2 separate regions of the Homo sapiens genome follow, and region 2 is linked to region 1. Evidence: promoter capture Hi-C in human tissues and cell types (Jung and others, 2019). All regions are on one chromosome and are shown on one strand. Each heading gives the region's core, a stretch centred on a gene start or on the middle of the fragment in contact. The rest is flanking DNA. Distances are from core to core; before and after follow the strand shown.

Region 1 (2,700 bases), core at 160-2,659:
TCGTCAGTCGGTCCAGGCTTCCTGTTGTTGACCTTATTTTCCAACCTAGATTGTAAGCTCTTGTGGGCACATATTGTGCCTTTTTCACCACTGTATTAGGTTGAACCATTAAAACGGCCAATATTTGGTTGCTTTTGATATAGAAAAATGGCAGTTTTATATGGTTCAACCTAATATCTCTGGTTCTTGTCCAAGGAAGGCTTGTAATACATATTTGCTGAAAGAATTGTCCTTAATCAGAAATAAATCTAATTTCAAAACAGGCAGTAGGCAGACAGCTTCTTTCCACCTCTCCAAATCTCTTGACTGATCCCCGAGGCATATTTCCAGCTTGATTTTTCTTGTCACTGGCTTCAAGCTGCGTTGGTTTCCTGTCTAGTGTGTGAGGAGGTGAATTGTGTTTATGCCAAGACTTCTCTCTGGGATGTGGGTAACTCTCTTTGGGAGGCAGTTTGTGTAGAAGAAGGAACACAGATATGGAATCAAATCCCAGCCTGAAGACTTAGTAATTATATGATTTTGGACCAAAAAAAAAAAGACAAAAACAAAAAACAAAAAAACTGCACACACACACACAACAGAGCCTTGGTCTCCTCTTGGGTAAGACAAGAACAATATATGTACCACACAGCACCAGGAGGCAGGACCGGGAAAGAGTAAATGAGATAATCTATGTGAATGGGCCTGGCATATAGTAGGCATCTGCCAGATGCTAGTTTTATTCATTCTCAGTCTTTGTTAGAGAGAAACCAAACCAAAGACAGATACGTGATTTTCAGCCAGTGGTAACTTGGCAACTAGGAGCTGGTCTCTTGGGTCCTAGTTTTTCCAGCAAGTTACACTTTCTGTCTGTGATCTGCACACTACCATTTGAAGCACTTTTTCTCCTGCACACCACCTCACACCCCACCCAGCTCCCTCCTGACACCCATGACTGCCATACAGAATGTCTCCTCTCCTGCCCTCTGCCTGCCCCTTCCCTCACTCCTGGGAAGAAATCAGAGAATTTACTCCTCTGTGGTTTCATTTGCACTGGGTGATGGTGATTTTTTGAGGCACCTGATTGAGCTCCATGTACACATTATTTCAGCTCATAGACAGCAGGTCCACTTACCTGAGGCCACACCTTTACTTCATCAATCTGGTTCAAGGTGTGTTTGTATCCCCAAGGAAGGTTTTGATTGATGTAGTCTATAGCCACCAGAGCTGCTTCCTCAGTTTCTGGATCATCGCAGTTCGGTTGTCTATAAATCAGCCCTGGGCCATGTGGGGCTGAGTGGCAGCCCCAGAGCTGAGCAAGACAAAGGAGCAGGACGAGGGACTTCATGGCTGCCCCAGAGAGGCCCTGGCAGGCGTGCAGGTGGTTGGAGGCTTCGGGACCAACCCAGGTGCTCTGCTGGGAAAGGTAGACCCATGGAGGGTGGTGGGCTTTATTTATCTGTTGGAGCCTGCCGGAAGAATTGCATAAGGATACAGGATGATTTCTGCTTTGGTTCAAAAGAAAAAAAAAAACACCCTGCAAACATCAGCCCTGGAAAAGCAAACAGGTTAGGACATCGCTGGTCCCCAAGAAATCTGCCAAAGTCCATGCTGCTGTGGGGGAGATGCTCCAAAGTCTGCTTGGAACATGGTAATAGCAGCAAAGAGAAGACAGCTGAGGGAATGAGGTGGACACAGTCAGCCTCAGAGTGCCATGGGTTTGGCAGCAGAGGAAATGTCTTCTACTGTGATCTGAGCATGCCATGGGGTCTGTGAGAGGGAAGGGAGGATACTCAGCAATTTGATAAAATTCTCCAATGTCAGGGGGAGTTAGCTTTCCAAGAGGAGTCCTACAGGGAGAACAAGGCCCACAGATATAGCAAAGGTACAGATGTGTATAGGAGATGCCAAGATTTTGGGGGAAGATTCTTGGAGAAAAGAAAAAGGATGAGAGATGTTTCTGCCTAAAGTGGGGAATGGAGGTGGAAGAAGGGGGTTCCCGTGGCAGGACCACGGTGGGAAATGACCAGCAAAACGTGTGGGGTTCCCTGCCCCTTCTCTTCCTTCTCCAGACCTCACTGCCAGGGCCCTGCATGTGACAGCACAGATGGGCACTGACCAGAGTCTCCTAGCACTAGTAACCTAGTGCCCCTGCCAGTGCACAAGGGCAGCAGAGGGGAGTCCTGACTCATTTGACACAGCTCTGGGTTCGAGTCTGACACCGCAGGCTGAGATGCTGCACGAGCAGCTACGGACACAAATACCCCTTGAACATTCTTTGCAGACTCAGCAGAATTACAGTGTGTCTTTCTGGCCAGAACAGAGGGCCAGTGTTGACTCCAGGCACTGCCTATTAAGTGACCCTTGACAATTCCAAGTGTGACATCCAAGGAGGGTTGGCAGGATAAAGAGAGGCTTGGGAAATATCACACAAGGACCTGGTTTGGTTTAGTCTGAAGCAAAGAAGCCCTCTCATGGAGACCAACATGGTCTTCAAATATTTAGAGGCCATCATTGTGTGTGGGTGAATTTGTTCTAATGTTTGATATTGCTTCAGAGAAAAAAAAACTGGTTAAAAAAAAAAGAAAGAAGAGGGGCCCCTCCAAAGGGAAGCTTAATATTGATTTTCTGGGGTGAGAATCGGGGTGAGGGAGGTGAAGTGAGTGGTGATGGGGCAGAGAAGGTAGTTGGCAGGACTGTTCTCACATTTACTCCCAGCTG
Region 2 (2,700 bases), core at 169-2,668, 44 kb before region 1:
GAACAGAGAAAGAGGTTGAGGGATAGTGAGGGAGGTTGGAGAAGAGTGTAAAAAGAGGCTGTTCACGGGATTTGAAATTGGTGAGATGTTTCTTGGGCTGGTCAGCCTGAGGACCTGAGATCGTAGGTGGATCTTTCTCACGGAGCAAAGAACAGGAGGACTAGGGATTGATCTCCCAAGGGAGTTCCCCTGATCCGAGTCACGGCAGCAAATTTCATGTGTGTCCGTGTGAAGAGACCACCAAACAGGCTTTGTCTGAGCAATAAATCTTTTAATCACCTGGGTGCAGGTGGGCTGAGTCCAAAAAGAGTCAGTGAAGGGAGATGGGGTGGGGCCATTTTATAGGATTTAGGTACGTAAAGGAAAAAGAGGGGTTGTTCTCTGGCAGGCAGGAGTAGGGGTCACAAGGTGCTCAGTAGGGGAGCTTTTGAGCCAAGATGAGCCAGGAGAAGGAATTTCACAAGATAATGCTATCAGTTAAGGCAGGAACAGGCCATTTTCATTTCTTTTGTAGTGGAATGTCATCAGTTAAGCCAGGAACCGGCCATCTGGATGTGTATGTGCAGGTCTCAGGGGATATGATGGCTTAGCTTAGGCTCAGAGGCCTGACACTATCTGGGCAGACTGGGCAGGTAGAATCTTCATCTTTACCTTTTCTTTTCTTTCTTTTTTTTTTTTTGAGACAAAGTCTCACCTGCTCTGTTGCCTAGGTTGTTGTATAGTGGTGCCATCTCAGCTCACTGCTGTAACCTCCACCTCCCAGTTTCAAGCAATTCTTCTGTCTCATCCTCCTGAGTACTGGGACTACAGGTGCCCACCACCACGCCTGGCTAAAATTTGTACTTTTAGTAGAGACAAGGTTTCACCATATTGGTCAGGCTGATCTCGAACCCCTGACCTCAGGTGATCCACCCGCCTCAGCCTCCCATAGTGGTGTGATTATAGGAATGAGCCACTGCGCCCTGCCGTCTTCACATTTTCATTCTGCATTTAGGTTATTTCTGTGTGTCCTGACCATTGTATCAGAAAAAAGAGTTAGCTAACAGAATTTTTATTCTTTAAACCTTTTTGACTCATAATAGAACACATGCTTTTTGCAAAAAATATGGAAAATACGAAAAGCATAAAGAAAATTCACCTCTAATTCTACAACCATAAGGAAAACCAACTATTTATAATGCATAATTGCTTCATACACTTTTTGCTATTTGAATATATGTAATATATATGTTTTGCATCATTAGAATTATTCTGTACATACAGGTGTTTCTTTCCCTCCACTGTAGTTGAGCATGTATTTACTTATAACCTCTATTTTTTTCAGGTATTAATAGAAACCATATAAGCTTTATAAATGTTTTTGTGTTTTTATAGGATTTTAAAATTTTGTTATTTTAAGTATACAGTTTTTAGTCATAAACACAATCCCTGCACAAAGTAAAAAAGCAAACAATATTTTAGAATATTGTAAAATAAAAATTAAGTCTCTTTCCTCCATTCTTTACCTCCCAAACTCTTTCCCAAGAGAAGGACTTTTAAAAATCCCTTGTTATATATGGCTTAAATATTGTATTTTCCCTTAAGGTTATACCATGAGGACTTTCTCAGATCATTAAATATTCTTCAGAAAGATTATTTTTGAGGTTACATAATATTGGATGTTATGTACGTGTTAATGTATTCAACATTCCCCAATTTTTGGCCATGTATATTGTTTCCAATTATTTGTTCTTATAAGTAATGCTACAGTGGACCTCTTTGTAAATCTCTGACTATGTCTTTGAGAATCACTAGACTGGTTGACAGAATTTTATGACATTTAATTTTTTTGTAATAGGAGTCACTTTTTAAAGAAAATGCAGTTTTTATCAGGCTTAATGTATCCATTTTGTTAATTTACTTTAAAAATGGGCTTTAATTTTTAGAGCAGTTTTAGGTTGACAGTACAGCTGAGTGGCGAGTATAGAGTTCCTATGTAGTCCCTACATCTGCCCCTCACGCTCACAGCCTCCCCTGCTATAAACCTCTGAACACTAGCAGCACATTTGTTACAACCGATGAACTTACACTGACACATAGTTATAACCTAAAGTCCATGGCTTACATCAGCATGCATCCTTGATGTTGTACATCTATGGGTTTTGACAAATGTATAATGAAATGTATCCACCATTGTAGTAGCATACAGAATAGTTTCACTGACTAAAAATCCTCTGTGCTCCACATAGTCCATCCCTGTCTCCTTGCTAACCACTGGCAACCAGTGATCTTTTTACTGTCTTCATAATTTTGCCTTTTCCAAATGTCATATAGTTGGAACCATACAGTAGTTAATCTTTTCAGATTGGTTTCTTTCACTCAGTAATATGTATTTAAGTTTCCTCCATGTCTTTTTGTGGCTCGATATTCATATTCCTTTTTCGTGCCAAATAATATTCCATTGTCAGGATTTACTTATCCACTCACCTGGTGAAGGACAGTTTGTTGCTTCCAAATTTTAGCAATTATGAGCAGATGTGCTGTGAATATTCATGTGTGGGTTTTTCTATGGACATAAGTTTTCAGATCATTTGGGTAAATACCAAGGAGTGTGACTACTGGAGCATATGATAAGAGTATGTTAAGTTTTGAAAGTAACTGCCAAACTGTCTTCCAAAGTGGCTGTACCATTTGCATTCCCAGCAGCAATGAATGAGAAGT

The links. Contacts are between HindIII fragments. The study calls those that stand out against the background at their distance.
Region 2: a contact is called between a fragment that was not itself captured here and the fragment with the promoter of AHSG in region 1, in 2 of the 25 tissues and cell types used here (liver and ovary).

Annotation. Positions count from the first base shown.
Region 1 is chr3:186,611,769-186,614,468 of GRCh38, reverse strand. It overlaps AHSG (alpha 2-HS glycoprotein), which reads right to left and starts at 1,409. Exons shown (of 7, transcript NM_001622.4): 1 at 1,115-1,409. The coding sequence starts at 1,327. The HindIII fragment of the contact is 10,895 bases long and covers 1-2,700 here.
Region 2 is chr3:186,655,685-186,658,384 of GRCh38, reverse strand. All of the region lies in intron 1 of HRG-AS1 (HRG and FETUB antisense RNA 1), which reads left to right. Among named protein-coding and RNA genes, the nearest start is that of HRG-AS1, 8.6 kb to the left of the region's middle. RefSeq lists an enhancer at 239-758. The HindIII fragment of the contact is 4,825 bases long and covers 1-2,700 here.